Regions from separate parts of the Homo sapiens genome. Here region 2 is linked to region 1. The links are contacts of gene promoters, found by promoter capture Hi-C in human tissues and cell types (Jung and others, 2019). All regions are on one chromosome and are shown on one strand. Each heading gives the region's core, a stretch centred on a gene start or on the middle of the fragment in contact. The rest is flanking DNA. Distances are from core to core; before and after follow the strand shown. Region 1 holds the start of RHOU (ras homolog family member U). Region 2 holds the start of NUP133 (nucleoporin 133).

Evidence for each region. Contacts are between HindIII fragments. The study calls those that stand out against the background at their distance.
Region 2: a contact is called between the fragment with the promoter of NUP133 here and the fragment with the promoter of RHOU in region 1, in 1 of the 25 tissues and cell types used here (small bowel).

The regions. Positions count from the first base shown.
Region 1 is chr1:228,733,566-228,737,279 of GRCh38, forward strand. RHOU (ras homolog family member U) reads left to right here and starts at 1,914. Exons shown (of 3, transcript NM_021205.6): 1 at 1,914-2,439. The coding sequence starts at 2,178. The HindIII fragment of the contact is 9,114 bases long and covers 1-3,714 here.
Region 2 is chr1:229,506,435-229,509,754 of GRCh38, forward strand. It overlaps NUP133 (nucleoporin 133), which reads right to left and starts at 1,907. Exons shown (of 26, transcript NM_018230.3): 1 at 1,634-1,907. The coding sequence starts at 1,815. It overlaps NUP133-DT (NUP133 divergent transcript), which reads left to right and starts at 1,996. Exons shown (of 3, transcript NR_110630.1): 1 at 1,996-2,245. RefSeq lists silencers at 1,598-1,827, 2,768-3,062 and an enhancer at 1,878-1,997. The HindIII fragment of the contact is 14,911 bases long and covers 1-3,320 here.

The DNA.
Region 1 (3,714 bases), core at 664-3,163:
CAAAGTGTTGGGATTACAGGCGTGAGCCACCGCACCAGCCGATATTAGGTGCTTTATGATGGAAAGAATTGCCAGACTAGCTTCCAGCTCTGCCCATCTCAAGCTCTGCTACTCTTGCTACTGGAACCCTTCTAGTGTTGGGGAAAGTAAGACAGTTAAGGGCACCAATGTGACTCTCACAGAGGGTCATAGGTATGTCAGTGGTAGCCATTCCTATACCTGGATGGCTAGCAACAACATATCTACATAGGAGAACTGTAAACCACATAAATATATCCTGTCATCACAGCCAGGGCGAGGGAGAGGCAAGTCAGGTACCTGAGGCTCAAAACTTAACATTGGCACTTGCCTGACCCTGAGAGTAAGGGCCCTCTAAATTTGTTGTTTTTTGATATTGCCTCTGAATGCTCAATTTGTCATAAATTTTGCATCCTTGACATCCCCCTTATCTCACCTTCATCCTGATTCTGTATCCCATTACACCCAAACAACCTGTTTGGGTCTCCCCAACTTCACTTTCTTTGGCTGATCCCCAAAATCTTCATGGCCTCTTCAAAGTCACTCAATATGAGGGTAAGTTACAGTTTAAAAAGACAGTGAACATAACTGGTGGTGATTAAAATACTTTTTTTTTTTTCAAAATTTACAGAAACATATTACCACGTGTACACATTGCTAGGTCTTCCAATGTGAAAGTGTCCTTTGCAAGTCAGGGGTCCTGGATTCAAGCTTCTAACTTCTTGATAAATCCATCTCTGCATTCTGACCATGGCCATACGTTCAAGATTACGTTTATCATACTGACTTATTTTTGCCTCCAGGATTTTGGTTAGAAGCTCAGGCTCTGGGGCTAGACTATTTGGGTTTGGATCCTGGCATTGCCACTTACTAGCTTGTGGAATCCCAAAACGTTACTTAATATCTCTGTGCCTCAGGTGTTCTCATCTGTAAGTAATGTTAAGATTAAAAGAATTAGTTCTTGAAGAGTGCTTACAACAGTATCTGACACATTATGAAAGTTCAGTATTTGTTATTGTTATTTTTACTACCACTAGTATCAATGTGTATTAATAATATGTGGCCCTTCTCACACCACGCTGTACACCCCCAGGACTCTTGGTATTCTGACTTGGCTAAGAGGCGTCCTTTTTCTGAATAGACTGTTGACCACATGTAGAAGGAAGGCAGAGAGAGAAATGAATCAAAGGGAAACGGAATATTTTTTCAGACATATTAATGTCTCCGAATTACCTTTAAGTAAATGAAGGAATTGGGGGTATAAAAAAATTTCTGGAGCATACATGTATAAAGGTTCACGGCATGCCGAAAGACAAAGTCAAAGGAGCATTCACAATGGAGCTGGCATCCTTTTGCTTCAAAATGAGAAAAAATCACACGATCAGCTGCAGTTAGACTTAAGGAAAAAAGCTGTCTGTTAATTCAATCTCATTCGCAGGACAGGCCTCCAGGACACTTCATTTTTCCCCCTGGGTGGAGCCGTGGCCAGCCGGGGGCTCCACGGAGTGAATAGGAGGCGGCTCAGGCTTCCTGGCTCGCGTGGGCGCCAGAAAGCGGAACCTCCCGGGCCAGTCGCGCGGTGGTCACCCTCTTGGGAGCTGGGGAGGAGGCTGCGGAGGCTGGCCCGGCTCCTTCGGGCGTCGCTTCCCGGACCGGGTGCGCGGGGTCCCCCGGAACGTGTGTTCCAGGTCCTCCCGCGCCAGTGTTCGCAGTCCCCGCCTGGTCGCGGCGGCGCCTCGGGCGCGGGTGCAGGCGCGCGGCGCGCAGGCGGGGGGCGCTGTGGTCTTGGCGCGGGGACCGAGCCGCTCGGCCAGACCCGCCTCTTTTCCCTCCCCGCCAGCCCGCCCGCCTGCCCGCCCCCCACGCGTCGTGTCGCCGGGAAGCCGGGCGGAGACAGAGCGCTTGGGATCCACGGCGCTCGGACCGCTGTCCTCCAACAGCGCAGGGCAGAGCGGCTGGCGCCGCCGGAGCGCGGAGCCACGACCCTCCCTGGCCGCCTTTGTCTACTGGCCGTGCGGCCCGGAACCGCCACTCTCCAGGGCCGGGGACGCGCCCGCAGCTGTCGGTGACAGCTCCTCCCTACCGCAACCCTCCGGGGCGGAGGGGCGGTCGGGCCGGGCCCTGCTAGCCCGCGACCGCAAGCCCGCGCTCGCGGATCGATGCCCCCGCAGCAGGGGGACCCCGCGTTCCCCGACCGCTGCGAGGCGCCTCCGGTGCCGCCGCGTCGGGAGCGCGGTGGACGCGGGGGACGCGGGCCTGGGGAGCCGGGGGGCCGGGGGCGTGCGGGGGGTGCCGAGGGGCGCGGCGTCAAGTGCGTGCTGGTCGGCGACGGCGCGGTGGGCAAGACGAGCCTGGTGGTGAGCTACACCACCAACGGCTACCCCACCGAGTACATCCCTACTGCCTTCGACAACTTCTCCGGTGAGCTGGCCGGGGGGCCGGGGCCGGGGGCGCGTGGCCGCGGTCCACCCAGGGGAAGGAAGGTGGCGCGAGGGTCGCGAGGTTCCCAAGGGGGCTGCAGGGCCCCGGGCGCGGCTCCAGCTGGGAAGCCGGACAAATGAGGAGTGCAGGACGTTTCCTGAGTCTCAGGGACCGGGCAAGCGCGGAGCTAACACGAAAGGACCACGGCGGAGTGGGCTTGGAGAGAGGAGGGCGGAGCGGCAGTCAGAGCCTTGCCAAAAAAAAAAAAAAAAAAAATCTCACAATTTAAGCAACAGATAAGTAGGAGTGAAACAGGTTGAGTTCAGGGTGCCCGGTCAGTTTGTTGCATAGAGCAAAGTTTCCTGAGGGCGACGTCGCTGGCGCCGCTGCAGAGTTTCAATCAGAAGGTGACGCGCAGGTGCCTTTACCTGAGCGTCGCTCCTTTGCTTTTAGGCGGCTCAGCTCACAAGGGGCGTCTCCGCTTTAAAGAGCCGCGGAGACGCCGGGAAAACACTTGATTTAGTGAAAAAGCGCGAGCGGCCCTCGTGAAGGCTTAGGTTTGGATGAAACCTGAAGAGTAAACACCATTTCTTTCTTCTGAGCCCCACCACCTTCCCTGCCCACATGGGCTCGGATTCTGATTGTTGGTATCTTTTCAGGATCCCTTTAAGCTACTTAAAGCTCCTATGTACCGGGTGCGATGCCATTTCCCTTGGTAGATACAAAGAGAAAGGAATTCTCTATCTTGCTATTCAGGTCTTTTTGAAATTTAAGAAAAAGTTAAAATTCACAGAAACTAGTATGAAACACTTAACTGTCTTGCTTCTTTAAAAAAAAATTGCTTCTCTGACCTTCCTTTCATCCCAAAGGTACCTTAGAGAAATGGGTGCTGTACTGGTGGGTTCCCACCGCAGGGTATTGTTTCTTCCCCTCCCCCCACCCCACCCCTGCAGCTGACTAGTATAAATATTTAGAAACAATTAGAAAGTTGTGTAGAAAGAGACAAAACTGACTGCTTAATTAAAATAGAAACCTCCACAACATGTCCTGCTGCAGGCCTCTCCACACTCCCCGAGTCCCCGGATCCCAGTGGAAAGGGGGCCATGGCTTTCTTTTTTCTTTTTTAATCCTCCTTTTGACCTGACATAGAGATAAGGAGTGCCCTCATTTCTTAAACAGGACAATGCGGGCAGCCTGTGTTTGCACATGTTCTCAAAACACACTAGAATTGTATGATAAACCCTGAAGTTGGGGAACCTTTCCCAAGGGAAAACA
Region 2 (3,320 bases), core at 657-3,156, 770 kb after region 1:
TTAACTAGACCAGTGTTTTTTTTTTTTTTTTTTCAAACAGCGGGTCATTTTGCAGATCTCAACATTTTTGAAAGACAGAATATAAAACATCAGCTTTTACCATATGTTGTGGTCAAATACATTTTATAAATATTGGCTTAGATGAGATTTAAGCTCATCTAGCTTTAGGTGCTTAAGAGTCCACCAGACCTGGCCGGAGCAGTGGCTCATGTCTATAATCTCAGCACTTTGGGAGGCCGAAGCGGGAAGACTGCTTGAGACCAGGAGTTCAAGACCAGCCTGGGGAACGTGGCAAGACCTTGTCTCTACAAAAAAAATTTTAAATTAGCCGGGCATTGTGGCACCAGCCTGTAGCCTGGGCGACAGAGAGTGAGACCCTGTCTCTTTAAAAAAAAAAAAAAAAAAACTATCAGATCTGTACAACCAAGCAAGAAATCGAACAGGTTACGAGCATCAGCTGTTACATGGTCCTCAACAGCAGATATCACAGTAAAAACTTTATTTCTTGCTCACCCTCTTAACATTTAGAATATTGTAAAGTCACCAGAATAAAAGGTAGTCTATGTCTTATCACGAGAATTAAATGAGAAGATGCACATACAGAAGGGCTAAGGGCTTTGTTTCCTGACAGAGGATAACAAAGGTTTTTCTTCAAATGATCACAAGAAGAGATTTAAATAAAACAACACACAGTAAATAAAGTATGCTTTTATTCTCCAACTTTTCGCAAAAGGAATAGAAAACACTGACAAGATCAGCACTTTGAAAAGAACTTTTCAAAATATGCCAAAAAAAGTCAAAGATACAGTGTATTCTTTCAAAACCACTTCTCCTTTAAAGTACTGAAAAATTTTACAGATAAATTTTAACCATAATTTCAAGACACAATACTTTGTGTTTCCTGCAGGGAAAAATTCATTTTTTATAGATGAATTCAGAGAAAACTATGCAGAAACACTAAAGTTTTAGGTTAATTATGAACATGGTGTGTGTTGGGGGTGGGGAGGGGTGTGTGTGTGTGATGATTTTACTGGTGCTCCAAACGAGCAGTTTTAGTAACTAAACTATCACAGTACTCTTAGCTCACTTATGTAAAGCCTTTTCCTTATAATTTACCTAGAAAGTTAAATTCCGTAGCTAGAAACCCTTTAATTACCAATCATCAGATATTAATGTCAGTTGGTATGTTAGGCATTAAACAATGATCTTTCAGGGTTGTAGGTCCTCATTATCACCATCACCTTACATCTGCATCGTGGCAATTCATAATAACTCCTCTGGCTCAGGTGAGATATATTATCGCCATTTCACAGATGAAGAAAATCACGAGTGACTTACACCAGATCACACGGGTAGTAGGTGGGAAGTAGGTAAACACTGATGCAAATCCAGTTTGTACTTCACTTCTGCACAAAGGTATCCATGAAAAATGCAAAGTGGGGAATCAACTGATCAACTGATAATCAAAACGAAGCAGATACTACCTGCAGCAGTGGAAAAGGTCTATTTTCCAATACTGTGGCATTCTATTCCGCCGCCCCGGTTCCAAAGGCTTCTAAAGACAACAACCTATCCGGCCCACTGCGGCCCGTGAGGCTGTTGGTTGCCAGACCCAACCAGGGAGATCACTTACCGCGAGCTTAGCGAGCTACGCCGGCCGACCGGCGAGAAGAGCACTGGGGAGCTGACTGCAGACCCCAGGGGCAGACCCTTCCTGCTAGCCGTCCGGGGCGTGGAGCCGGGCCCGAGTCCGGCCAGCGGGCCCCTTCGGGACCCGGTACCCGGGGTCCGCGGAGAAGGGGCGGCTGGGAACATGACTCCAAGGAGCAGCGACTAGGACAGCGAGGGATCTGGCCGTCAGGTTGCAGCCTGGCCTGCGCGCGGAACTTAAACACCTAAGGGAAGAGATGGCGCGCGATGATGACGTCAAACGCAATGGCTCCCGCGGGTTGTGGTCGGAGCGCTGGCGGGGGCGGGATCGTGACGTTAAGGGCGGTGCCCAGTCAGCGAGGTAGGTCGGGAAGGCAGCCGGCGGCCCCAGATCTAGAACCGCTGCAGTGCCGAGCTTCCAGGGACGTGAAGCCGGAAAGCCAGGCGCCCTTCTTGACTGCGCCTAGGTGGAACTGGCCCTCCAGCAGCTTGAACGTAGCCTCTTTTCACACTGGTAGTTCCTGAACCTCTTGTGAAATGAAAGATGTTCCTCATTCCAAGCTGAGGACGGAGAAAAGCCGTAAAGCTGACACTGGTATCGCACTGTGATATTTGTTGTTTTCTAGGTTTGCCATTTTCCCATTCAACTTTGCGCAGTCTCATCCACGCTGATGACGCCACAAATCCGTGTCTCTAACCTGGATCCAGCTCAAAACCCCCAGACCCCTATCATTCAGCTCCCTAGGGGACAATTTCAGCTGGAAGTCCTGCGAACTCCTCACAATCCACTTATGAAAAGCGCATTCATGTTTTCCTTTAGGACCCCTCTCCTACCACCATCTCTGTTCCAGCTTGGTAAAACTGGCCAGTTGTCCAAGGCAAAGAGAAGAGCTCTATCTGCAGTCATCCCTCACACCTACCTCCACCCTAAGATCATGGTATACGTTGTAAGGTCCTACGTGTCTGTACTAGATCACACATTTGCACTGCCTCTGCCCTGGTTCTGGTACTTACCTTTCCCTCAACCACTGCGTAGCCTCTTCTGCCAGCGGGAGGGAGTAGGGGAGATGGGGAGAGGGTTCCTTACCTGTGTCTAGTCTTCCTCCACTCTATCTTCTCACTGCCAACACAATGAATTAAGGCAAACGTAATGCTGCTCTTGGGCCTGTAAATGCTTCAGTGGCTGACCATTGCCAGTAGGTTATTTGCTAAGCTCCTTTGCAAGGTCCTATGTGATCTAAGTCAGGTTGGCTTTTCCGTCCGTGTTGTACTTCCAGCACTTCCCACTTGCACTCCACATTCCGAGAACTTAAAAACCCAAATCTCCCTCCAGTGCCCATGTCCATGTTTCTCTCACCTGGAATGCACTCCCTGCCTTGTTGGTCCAGAAGGCGCCTACCTTCCGCATCAAGTTAGTTCTGTGCTGCCTTCTCAGTGAAACCTTCCACAGGATTAGGTCCCCCTTATCCTTTGTCCTCTCTGCTCCTGTGTGTAGACTGTATTTTTATCCTGCATAATAGTTTGTTTTCATAATTGTCTGTCAAGTACTTCCTTTTAAATGTCTTGACAGCAAGAGCAGTGACTTTGTTACCTTTGTGGCACACAGTAACAGACACATAGTAGACTTTCATTCAACGTGTGTTGAAATAAGGGAATGGTTAAGTAAACAT